2 separate regions of the Homo sapiens genome follow, and region 1 is linked to region 2. Evidence: promoter capture Hi-C in human tissues and cell types (Jung and others, 2019). All regions are on one chromosome and are shown on one strand. Each heading gives the region's core, a stretch centred on a gene start or on the middle of the fragment in contact. The rest is flanking DNA. Distances are from core to core; before and after follow the strand shown. Region 1 overlaps SH3RF2 (SH3 domain containing ring finger 2). Region 2 holds the start of PRELID2 (PRELI domain containing 2).

Evidence for each region. The method cuts DNA at HindIII sites, captures the fragments that hold promoters and counts their contacts. A contact is called where the count stands out against the background at its distance.
Region 1: a fragment that was not itself captured here is called in contact with the fragment with the promoter of PRELID2 in region 2 in 1 of the 25 tissues and cell types used here (heart left ventricle).

Annotation. Positions count from the first base shown.
Region 1 is chr5:146,022,489-146,028,774 of GRCh38, forward strand. The region is part of intron 5 of SH3RF2 (SH3 domain containing ring finger 2); the gene reads left to right. The region is part of intron 1 of LOC107986458 (a long non-coding RNA gene); the gene reads right to left. Among named protein-coding and RNA genes, the nearest start is that of PLAC8L1, 80 kb to the right of the region's middle. RefSeq lists enhancers at 3,554-4,349, 4,350-5,143, 5,165-6,286. The HindIII fragment of the contact is 4,562 bases long and covers 2,692-6,286 here.
Region 2 is chr5:145,834,092-145,840,709 of GRCh38, forward strand. PRELID2 (PRELI domain containing 2) reads right to left here and starts at 1,251. Exons shown (of 7, transcript NM_205846.3): 1 at 1,086-1,251. The coding sequence starts at 1,160. RefSeq lists a silencer at 1,443-1,562. The HindIII fragment of the contact is 8,273 bases long and covers 1-6,297 here.

The sequences.
Region 1 (6,286 bases), core at 3,723-6,222, 190 kb after region 2:
GACATCATATCATTTCGTCCAGAAAAATGTCAGCAAGTGTCTCTTTAAAAATATTTTTAACATAACCATGATTCCATTATCACACACTAAAAAATGAACAACAGGCCAGGCACGGTGGCTCATGCCTGTAATCCCAGCACTTTGGGTGGCTGAGGCAGGCAGATACTTGAGGTCAGGAGTTCAAGACCAGCCTGGCCAACATGGAGAAACCCCGTCTCTACTAAAAATACAAAAATTAGCCAGGTGTGGTGGCGCATGCCTGTAGTCCCAGCTACTTGGGAAGCTGAGGCAGGAGAATGGCTTGAACCAGGAGGCAGAGGTTGCAGTGAGCCGAGATCTTGCCGGTGCACTGCAGCCTGAGTGACACAGAGCAAGGCTCCATCTAAACACACACACACACACACACACACACACACACACACACACACACACACAATTCCTTAAAAACATTAAATATTCAGTGTTCAAATTTTTATATTTGCCTTATGAATGTTCTTAGTGTTTGTTCAAATGGGAACAAAATGAATTAAACACATTGCATTGAGTTAATATGGCTCTTAAATTTCTTTATTCTACATATCCCTCCTTCTCCCTTAACCATCTATACATTAAAAAAACAAAGTCACTTGCCCTTTTGAATTTTCCAAATTCTGGATATTACTGGTTGCATTTTTGCAGTGATAATACATTCCTCTCTAGCCCATACATTCTTTTTTTCTTTTTTCTTTTTTCTTTTTTTAGACAGAGTCTCACTCTGCCACCCAGGCTGGAGTGTAGTGGCATGATCTTGGCTCACTGCGACCTCCGCCTCCCAGGTTCAAGTGGTCCTCCCACCTCAGCCATCCAAGAAGGTGGGATTAAAGGCATGCACCACCACACCTGCCTAATTTTTGTATTGTTAGTAGAAACAGGGTTTCACCATGTTGGCCAGGCTGGTCTCAAACTCCTGGACTCAAGTAATCCACCCGCCTCGGCCTCCCAAAGTACTGGGATTACAGGTGTGAGCCACTGAGGCTGGCCTCCCCCATACTTTCTGTAAGCTGATAGAACTAGAGGCTTGAAAGCTTCGGGCTCAATTTTTTGTCAAGAATACTTCATAGGCAGTACTAAGTACTTGTTTTTTAGTTTGGTTTGAGTTTTTTTAAGTGTACAATTCAATGGCTTTTAATATATTTACACAGTTGAGCATTCATCACCATAGTCAATTTTAAACATTTCCTTTACTCCAAAAAGAAATCCCACACCTCTTAGCCATCACCTCCCAAACTACCATTTCCTTTAACCCCAGCCCTAGGAAACCATTAAGTTACTTTCTGTCTTTATAGATTTGCCTATTCTGGATGTTTTCTATAAGTGGAAGCACACAGTATTCGAATATTTGGATCTTTGTGGCTGGTTTCTTTCGCTGAATATGTTTTTAGGTTTACTCATGTTGCGGTATGTATTAGTACTCATTCCTTTTTATGGCAAATAACATTCTATTGTATGAATATACCACATTTTGTTTATCCACTCATCAATGAATGAGCGTTTGGGTTGTTTTTACTTTTTGGCTATTTTGAATAATGCTGCTATGGAACATTTGTAGACATATGCTTTCATCTGATTATATACCTAGAAGTGGAACTGTTAGATCATATAGTAACTCTGTGTTTAAGGAACTGCCAATGATTTTCAAAAGTGATTGCACCATTGTACATTCCCAGGCTTGGTGTATGCAGGTTGCAATTTCCCCACATCTTCGCCAACACTTGTTTTATTATCAATCTTTTTTATTGCAGCCATCCAATTGGGTGTGAATGTTATCCTATTGTGGTTTTGATTTGCATTTCCCTCATGGCTAATAAGAGCATCTGTTCATGCGTTTATAGTGCATGTGTTCTTTGGAGAACTGTTTTTTTATATCCTTTGCCCATTTTATCATCGGGTTTCCTTATTATTATTGAGTTGTAAGAGTTCTTTACATATTCTAGATTCAAGTCCCGTATCAGTTATATGACTTGCAATTTTTTCTTTCATTCTGCGTGTTGCCTTTTCACTTTCTAGGTGTGTCCTTTGAAGCACAAAAGCTTTTCATCACATCTACTCTTTCCTTTGTTGCTTGTGCTTTTGTTGTCATATCTAAAAACCAGTGTCTAATTCAAATTCATAAGTATTTATCACTGCATTTTTTTCTAAGAGCTTACAGTTTTTACTCTAATGTTTAGATTTTATGATCCAGCTGGAGTTAATTTCTATGTATGTTGTGAGATAGGGATCCAGATGCATTCTTCTACCTGTAGATATGAAGTTGTTCCAGCATCATTTACTGAAAAAGACTATTTTTTCCCATTTTGTTATATTTACACTCATGTTAAAAATTAAGTACTTTTTATAGCAACACATCAGGAAGCACATAATGCCTAACTGCCTCCCTTTTTGTATTAAAATTGATTCTATTCAAGTGTCAGCCTGCTCCATCCATTAAATGGGTCCCCATTAGCCTTTTACCGGGTGGTTTGAACATTATTTCATTAGGGGTTGCAAAATGATGGTGTTCCAAATCTGTCACTCCTGAATTTTTTTATGCCACAATTCTTCCATAATATTGAGCTATTTGTAAGACACAGCACTGTGAGCTTTATCTCACTATTGATCTCCACACCTACACATCATAATCCCTCAGCATATATTGGGGAGTCCAAAGTTCATATTCTTAACCTCTCTCTCTGTCTCTCTCATTTGTTCCTGGGCATTCCCCTAGCTCAAAGACAAGATTCATTTCTCACCACCTTCCCGCATGGCATGTTTGCCATCACTGAACAGCCACCCCTTTTTCCACTGGCCACTGCCAGCTGGGCTAATCTTACTGCCTGCCTGTGCAGTCGCCTTGTTTACATCCTTGCCACTGCCGTAGGCTGGCCCCCAGTCCAGGCCTCCTTGGCCCACATGTTCCCTCCCTTGCCTTCCTGAGGTCTGGTTCCCACACTTGAGCCAAGATCAGGAGAAAGAGGCCCAAGTTTGTTCAGCTTGGAGAAGAAAAGATTGATGTGGGGTTGAATGATGACTTTGTTTTTCCAAACTTGCATTTCTATACCAGTTTTATTTTCCTGTGTTCTGAAGAGAAAAGGAACATAAATCAAAACATGAAGGATTTAAGGAAGTACAATGAGAAATCTCTCCTACCGCATAGACTGCTGGAAACTAAATACTGCCAATGCTGAAGTGGAATCTATGGATTCTGTTGTTGTTTTTATTGTGTTTGGTTTGGTTTGTATTTATTCTACAGAGGAAGGTAGCTTAGTACAAACAAAAAGGTTTTGAGTCAGGCAAAGCTTCTTGTCATGGCTTTGCCATCTGGTAACTAAATGACATTGAAATTAAGTATCTAACCCCAATAAGCCTCAGTGTACTCATCTGCAAACTGGGATAACTCCTTCCATGCAGGGTCTTGGCAATGGTAGCAATAACTCAAGCTGCAGCCATTGCTATTACCTTCCCCCTCTTTCCTCCAAGGGGAGCTTTTAGAATCTGTCATTTGTGTGACTGGGGAGAACCCTGAATTAACACAGGGAATGGGCCAAACGTTTTAAAATCTAAATGATCATTCCAATCTGAATGTTTTAAGGTATAGTTTTTCACAACTACTAACAGATATGGAGGAGGGGGTGATCTTGCCTCTTATATGTAAAACACTGGCAGGAAAAGGTACTTCCTTAACAGACTCAAGGTCTTCCCCCAAAAATTAAATAAACACATGAATTATAATTTAAAATATAACTAATAGTCCCTACAATATATAACATCTTTGAGCCACATAGTCCCAGGTGGCAGTAACCTTTATTTGCACAAGAAAGGTGATAGATACATCACGAGCGAGGCCTCAAAGAATGTGATCCTAGCACTCCCACAGTTAACTGTATAGCCCTGGACAAAGGGTTTTGCCTGTCTGGGTCCCAGTTTTCTCATTGGAATGACAAAAGTGGCTTGGCAGAGTATTATGTGCGTTAATTGGCTAACAGCACACTCTGAAGATAGGTAACACAGGGAAAGAGCTGTTTCTATTATTTAATGAATCATGGTTATTGTTGTGATTCTTCCTGTCTTCTGCGGGAGCACACATTTACACAACAGACCTGTTTTCTTTCTGTCTGGTGCAAAGTTTTGTCAGGCCCCGCAGGTATTGGGTAGAGCTATTCTCTGAGGCAAAGAGCTTCTCAGCACAGGCAGTATAGTAAGGAAATAAAAATATGGGCTTTGGGGTCAGCTAGATCTAGGACGGAACTCACACTGCTTCTTACCAAACAGTATAACCTTGGGCAAGATACTTTACTCCGTCTGAGCCTCAGTTTTTATATCTGTAAAATGGGACTAATGATGGTAATTTTCATAAGATGGCTGCGAGGATAAAACAAGGCAATGCTTATACATGAGATAATGGCCAGGGTTTAGGAGTGGTAAATGGCTCAATAAATGTTCACTCTGTTGTTATTATTATCATTGGGTCAAGCCAGGAAGCTAAAACCATCTCCCATCCCCACTGCCCCAGGGCCAGCCTATACAAACAGGCCCTACTGAGAATGAGCTTGATCAGCCACATGCTTCAGAGATGATCTGTTGGAGCCTGCTTTGAAGTGCAAAGGCTTCCAAAAGCCCCTTTGCTTTCTTGATAAGCAGTGACAATTCCAGAATTAGGGAAGGAGTGTGACTCTTGGGACAATTGCACTTGCTTAGTTCATACTGTAATTCCGTGTGAACCCATGTGAGAGAAGCCAAAAATGAATGCAGGAAAAAAAAGACTTTGGATAAAAAAGTCAAAGATAGAGACTGAGGCAGAGCCAGTCATCTGTCCACCATTTCCTATACACACCTCGCAGTTTTTTCTGGGAATGCTGTCCTCACCTGGCAAGCGTCCAAAGCCCATTGTGAATCCTAGTTGCCAAAGCCCCTCACAGCCTGTCAGTGAACCAGTCAACAGAGTTGTCGAATGCCCACCAGGCACTGAGCTGGGCACAGGTGATACAGTGAACAAGACAGACATGGTTGCTACAGCCATGGAACCTCCAAGCTAGCAGGGAAGACAAAAACTAAACAAATTATTAACATACTTGATTACAAGGTATTAAGCGTGCAAAGTGCTAGTGAGGTTCAATTATGGGAGATGAAGGGAGTATGTAATGGAGGGTCCACCTAGTCTAGAAAGTCAGAGAAGCCTGCCTGGAAGAAGTGATCTTCAGGTGAAAACCTGGAAGCTGATAGCAGTCAGCCAGGTGAAAAAAGGAAGCGAGCTGAGGTTCTGCACACACCTCTCCTTAGCGCTGCAGCCCAGTTGCCTTTCTACTGAGGTCACTCCAGAAAGCGCCAGTACTCCTGGGGCACAGTGACTTCTGCAGTACTTAGATCCTCAGCCCTGCCCAACCTCCCCGAGGTCCTCGGTCTGGTTTCTGGTGACTAAAGCAGGTTCGATAATTAACATTGCTTACTTCCTTGATTCAGCATTTCTCCAGCAAGAGGTTAAACTTTACATCATCGTTTTGCCCAATTAATCCTGGCAGGTGAGTCACTGAGACGACCCAACCCTGCCCGGGTGGAAAAGGGAGCGGCCTAGCCTGTACCTCAGACATTTTAATGTAGACACTATAGCTCTGGGAGCTGGGAGCAGGGGACATTGATATCCAAGGCCAATGAGGCCTGCAACACACACACACACACACACACACACACACACACACACACACACACAGAGATAATTCAACAAGAAAGGAAGACAAGAGAAGCAAAATAAAACAGAAGGGCAAAAGAAAGGGAAAAGCAATGTAACAGGGTAGCATTCTGGGAACAAAGAGGGTAGTATAGACATGTGGGCACAGACAGACCTTGATGGTGCAGTGGCCTCAGCCAAGTGGCTCAACCTTGCAAGACCTCAGTTTCACCATCTCAAATGGGAAAATTAATAGCGTCTTCCACACAGACCTGTTAGGAGATGAATGAGATACTCGCATACAGAAGGCTTTCTCAGCCTCAGCACTATTGGCATTTTGAGCAAGATCATTGTTGCGGCGGCCGCCCTGGGCATTGTGGGGTTTTTAGCGGCATCCCCGGCCCCTACCCACTGATGCCTGTAGCACCCACCACCACCACCCACCCACCTGTGGCAACAACAGACATTACCAAATGTTCCGCAGGGTCAAAGTTGCCTCCCGCTGAGAACAGCTGATGTGCAGAATGTAGCACAGGGTCTGGCTTGTAGTAAATGCAGAATAAAGGGCAGTTAAGTCAAGGGCTGTGTGAAAAAGATGCCCTTTCT
Region 2 (6,618 bases), core at 1-2,500:
TCAGTATTGAGGAAGAGTTCATTATCTGTATTGAAATCGGTTGTAGTAATACAAACAACAATAACATTTTAGAGCCCTAACTAAACATCAGTAGCAGTGAGAAAAAGAAAAATAGCTCAGAGCAGATTGTGTGAGTTACAGTGAAATATGCAAAATCAATCAAGCCCAGAGAGACAAGAGTATAGGACTTTAGTGGTCCCCTCCTCACCCAACCCATTCCTGGGAGCAACTGGTTAAAGGCATTTTGTTCCTGACCAGCTGCCTTACCCATTATCTTCAAGTTCCTGGAATTTGTGATACAAAGAACAATGTACAGACAATCAATAGTTTATGTTATTTTAATATAAATTCTTGGTAAACAACTTAGGAAGTGCTTCTTATTCTCCTTTAAAAACCCACTTTCGACTTCTGCTCATCAGAATGTATACTCAGGGCACCTTCACTCCCAGGATGCAGCCCTCAAACTTGGCTCGAATGAACTCTCTTTTTATATTGATTTTGCCTCAGTTTCTTCATTTAGGTCACAACTGTGCTAAGCACTTTACACAAGTTACCTCATTTGGATCCTCACAACAACTCTATGAGTCGGTACTATTATTTTCCCCATTTTACAGATTAGCAAACTAAGGCACAAAGAGAGTAAGCAACCTGCACGATGTCCCACAGCTGTTTAATAAGGAGCAGCGGATGGGGCAGCAGAACCATCATGCTGAGTAAACCAGGATGACTGCCCAATGGCCTCCCCTCGCTTTTAAGGGGTCAGTGATGAACCGGAAAGCTCCACACGTCGGTCATCTGCAACTCCACGGAGCTCACGAGCTGGGATTCCCGGAGGCTCTTCCTAAAAGGAAAGCCTCTTCTTTCAGCTGGGGCAGGTGTGAACGTGATGCCAAGCACGGCCCCTTTTCCCGCTCCCTGTAAAGGGAGTCTTCGAGGAAATCCCTCTCGACCCACACATCCCTGAAGCAAAGCCCGCAGCTGGAAAGAGACACTGGCGGTGCCAGCTTCCGCGTGGATGAAGGAGAGGAGAGAGGGGCAAGCAGCGGAGGCAGCGCGGGATACGGAAGGTGGAAGCGGGGCGGTACCTTTCGGAGAAAGCTGGCGACCACCTGCTCGAAGGGGTACTTGTACACCTGGTGCACATCCACCGAGACCCCCATCCCCGCGCGCCGCGGGCCCCGCGCACCGGCCACGCCTCCGCGAGCTCAGAGCTGCCCAGGGCTCCGCAGAGGCCCGGAGGCGCCCACACTCGGACAGCCACATGGGCGTGGCCTTTTTCCTCCGCTTTTCAAACTTTCGAAACTTTATTGGCCACTCGGAGAAACGCGCAGTCGGCCACGCCCACGCCCCTACTGCCAGAGTCCGGGGCCTGGGGTTACAGAGCGCGGGAGGCGCTGGAGCGCTCCCAGAGCACCCGGGGCCCCGCGGTCTCCACGCTGGCGGCGCCAGAGCGGCCCTGGTGCCCTCCCGCGGCCGCGCCTGCCGAGAAAAGCTTCTCTGCCTGGGAGCCATCACGCCCCGCCCCAGGAAACCTGGACCTTGGGCTTATGCGTTTATGGTATCACCGCCTGGAGTCACAGAATAAGCCGTGGTTGGCAGCACGGGAAAAAAGTATTAATAAGGAAGGCCTGGTGTGACAAAGGCCAGCATTACTCATGCCACCAGGCAGCTGCCTCTGAGGCTTGGGTTTGGGCCTCGTGTAAGGTAAAGATTGCCTCGGGAATAAGAACCGCGTTTTAGTGCACCAAAACCTGCAGGTAAGTTCCTTTGCTCGCTAAGGTTAAACACCACGGAGCAAGGAACTAGAGGATACAAAAGAGTTGCGAGTATTATTATTTACTGCAACCAACAGATGTTAGGAGAACCAGCACGTTAATCCGTGTATTCAGCACGGTTCTGAGGCCTCCTATGCCCCAGCGCTGTAGTGGGCACTGCGGATTCCGCAGGGAGGAAACACCAGCTCTGCTGATGAGCCGGCTGATTTCACACCCAATCAACAAGCTGGGAAAATAAAAACAATAATCGGTTAAAGTGACACGGGCGCGGACATGATTTTAGTGAGGGTGATTATGGAGGGTCTCTGAGGTGATGACTTTTACGATTTTGCCATCTCGCTCGCCCCTGCCATACGCAGTCACACTGGTCTGGCAAAACCCTAGCCTTGTGTAAATCTAGGTCTCCTCTGACTGTCTCTACCCAAGCCACCAGAAGGGGCTGAAGGAAAATACACACCCACTGTGCATCTTTTAAGTTCATAACCACTAACCCTATGGCGCCTTTTAATGGTGCCAGACAAATACACTATGAAAGTACTGTATTTCTGGCTGGGTGCGGTGACTCACGCCTGTAATCCCAGCACTTTGGGAGGCCAAGGTGGGCGGATCGCCTGAGGTCCGGAGTTCCAGACCAGCCTGGCCAACATGGTGAAACCCTGTCCCTACTAAAAATACAAAAATTAGCCAGGCGTGATGGCGGGCGCCTGTAGTCCCAGCTACTCCGGAGGCTGAGGCAGGAGAATCGCTTGAACCCGGGAGACGGAGGTTGCAGTGAGCAGAGCTCGCCCATTGCACTCCAGCCTAGGCGACAAGAGCAAGACTCCATCTCAAAAAAAAAAAAAAAAGAGAGTACTGAATTTCTCTAATCCACTTACTCTCCCGCATTCCTCCACACCTCTGACACCTTTGTTCCCAGCCTTATACTCCAGTCATTACCTTACTTCCATTTTCACTTAGTCAATAGGTCACATCGCTCTGCCACCTCTCTACCCACCAGACCAAATGCCTTGCCTTCACTCTTGTTCCTGTGGGTGAACTGTCAGCACTTTGTTTTAGCACCAGTGTCTCCATTTGTCCACTGAATCCTGAGGTGAACTGAAAAATGTTTAACAAATAGCTGTCCTTTAAAGTATAAATCAAGCAAGGCCCTGATTTCCAAAGGTTGCTGATTCCTGTGGTGTAAATACTCCTACCATGTTTAAAGATGCCAACTCGATGTCACTAAACACAAGTTGGGGATTTAGCAACATGGAGTTGAGTGAGGAGTGGGAGTTGGGGAGGGAAGCACAGAAGCACACCATCACATAGTATTTCCACCACCCACATACGACAGCCATAAAGAACCAAAAACATAAATAATGGAAAATGTAGCAGGAAGGGATGAGTTTTCAATGTTTATTACTCTTTGGCCAGGCTCCTATGGTTCATGCCTGTAACCTCAGCACTTTGGGAGGCCAAGGCAGAAGGATCACTTGAGGCCAAGAGTTTGAGGCCAGTGTAGGCAACATAGTGAAACCCCATCTCTACAAAAAATAAAATAAAAAATTAGCCAGGTGTGGCAGTGCACACCTGTAGTCCTAGCTACTTGAGAGGCTAAGGCCAGAGGCTCTATTAAATCCGGAAGTTCAAGGCTGTAGTGAACTATGATCGTGCCATGCACTCCAGCCTGGGCCACAGAGTGAGACCCATCTCAAATAAATAAATATTTATTAATTTTTATATGTGATTGTAAATTTATATACTTTAATAATAGCTGTGTTGAATGGCCAGCTCTAGTACATCACTAAAAGTTCCTGTCCTCTTTCTTGTTCAAGGCCATCTCTCTAGCAATATCCCCCTTCCTTTCTGTATCATCAGCTTTTGTCTCTACTGGGCCATTCCAGCCAGCACAACAAGTACACTGTAATTTCTTCCATCTAAAAACAAAAACAGAAACAATACAAAAAAAACAACTCTTAACCCCCTATCTTCCTCCAGCTGTATTCCGAGTCTCTGGTCCACTGATGCTCCTCAAAAGAGCTGCCTGTAATCTCTTGAGCCCATTCCAATCAGTATTTGCCCCCACCACTTCACCGAAACGACTGTTGTCAAGGTCACCAATGACCAAATTGCTAAATCCAATAATTAATTCTTAATCCCCACCTTACTAAGCCTGTAAGCAGCATTTCCTTGAAATACAGAGGGAGGAGTGGAGAGGAGAATGAGATGCAAATGCTCTTACATGTGTTGGATGCATGTTTAAAAGCCACTCCACTATATCACCAATCCCTCCTTACAGGAAAACAAAAAGCAGTCTTCCAGGGAGACTACACAGGTCCACAAAGGAGAGATCAATTACCTGCAGAGTTTATGGTATTTTGTATCTGCCTCTTTTACCAGAGTAGCTGGAGACCAGATGTGACATACAAACCCCCTGCTAGCGTAGGTCCTGGGCCCTGTATCCTCAATCCACTCTGACCATCAGTTTCTCCCAGAGTGTATCTTTAAGCAGGACTTAATCTCCGGATTAAGTAACCATGAAAGGCCAATGGTGTGTCCTGAAAGATTAAAGGCCCCACCACCTGCAACCTCTACTTGGGGCTGGTTGGCTGAGTGACTTGTGTAAGAACAAATGTGACCTGCCCATTCCAAGGACGTTGGGGCTTTCTGAAACGTGTGCCAGACTTGACAACATGAGCCTATTATCTTGTAGCTCTGAATCACAGCCAGTTTGCACAACAGTAATCTTACTTGCTGGGTCCTCTGAGGGAGCGAGAAGAAACTGTGAAACAAATTTCCATCGCTTTGAAATTGGTTGGCTTAACTGGGCAGGGACTTGAGGGTGGAAATTTGCTGGCAAACCTTAGAAGTTCATGACCTTATTTGGTCTTTAAGATACCAAATATCTTACTAAAGAACTTTCATAAGATATCAAATACCTTTTGTATCTTCACAGGGAGGCACAATAGTTTAAACATGGTAGACATCCAATACATTTAGGTTGAATGAATGAATGAATGAATGATTGTAAATGCTGCAAGATTTAAGTGACACAGAACTCCAGCCCTGACCCTGTCTCTCTGCTTTTCTCACCTTCTTCATGTTGGTTCAATTCCCTCTTCTGACCATCCTGACCATCTCTCTATCACTGATTTTTTGTATCCAGTCTTATAATTATCTGTATATATAAATCACTGTTACTGTGACATTCTCAAGACTGGAGGAACTGCATATATTATTCACTCCTCTCTATCCAGTGCCTAGTAAAATGCTTGGCACCTAGTATATGTTGAATAAACTCACGAATGTACTTAATATAAAATATGACCTTGAACAAAATCCTTCCTGCCCCTGCAGCTCAGTTTTTCCGTCAACAAAAACTGAAATGCAGGGGCAGAAACTGAGTGGGCCAAGACTGTCTCTAAAATCCAGCAACCTGACATTTGAGATGTGAGCTAGAGACACAAGCCAAGGCAGGGAACAGGGATATAGTTATTGAAACCAGGGTACAGAATGAGAATTTGCAAGGAAAACAAAGCAAAGTATCAGAATAGATTCAAATATGTAAAATATCATGTATGATAAGTAAGCGTGGGTACTAAGGAGACAAAAACTGGAGAAGAAGGATGAGAAGTGATGGCAGGGCAGGGGAGAGAGGAGCAGTGTTAAAATTTTTTAAAAGAGCTAAGGAAGACCTCTCTGAGAAAATGACATTAAAGTAGAAAAGTTGCAAGAAGAGGAGGGCAAGTCATGCTCGTATTTGGAGGAGGATCATTCCACGTAGAAGGAATGGCAGGTTCCAAGACCTGAAACAGGCATTCTCCTGATACATTTCAGAGCTACAAGGAGGCCAGTATGGCTGTTGCAGAGTTCCTGAGATATAAGGTCAGAAAACATGAATCTAGGTCACATAGGGTCCTCCAGGCCATGGTAAAGATGTTGGCTTTATCTGTATGAGATGGGAGGCCATTGAGAGTTTTGAGCAGAGGAGAGACATGATCTCAACTGTATATTTTAACAGAATCATTCTGGCTACTTACAGTTTGGAGAAGTGACTATGGGGAGGCAAAGCAAAGAAAGAGACCAATTAAGAGGTATGATATTTTACATATATATATGTAAAATTTCCTCCCCAACTCCCACTCCTCACTAAACTCCACTCCTCCACGTATAAATATAGATTCATGGTTCCTGGCTGATAACTCCCATAGCCCTTGCTACAGTCTTTTGCTATAGTATTGGGACACTTTAGGCCTCAGAAGCAGGCTTTTCTCTCTCCGACCTTCTTCTGACTTCCCTTCACCTGCCCAAGGCAGGACTCTAATCTTTCCTGGCTTTTCTGATTGATTTCTCATTCCAGAGAGTGTCCCACCCCATACCCTGCAGGAAGAAATGCTGCACAGGAAGGCCAAGAAGAATCTAGACAGGCGGGCCTTACTAGGTTTCCTGACTCAGTCTGTTAGTATTATATCATATCCTTTTTTGCCTAATCGTATTTCTACCTGGTTATCTTCAATCATGTCTATCCAATGGAGTCTTGCTAAGAGACCCAAAAGAACAGGGTTCAGAGAGCTCCCAGCTAGCCAAACATATGGAGATTCCTGGAGGATGGTGCATCCAGGGAGGGCATGGAAGCTCCATGCCTCTTCCCCTATACCTTGCCCTATGCATCTCTTCAGCTACATCCTTTGTACTATCCTTTATAATAAACTGGTAAATGGAAGTAAGTGTTTCCCTGAGTTCTATGAGCTGCTCTAGTAAATTAACTGAATCCAAAGAGAGGATCATGGGAAGCCCATCTTGAAGTGGGTCAGTCAGAAGTTCTGGAGGCCAAGACTTGCAACTAACATCTGAATGGGGGACG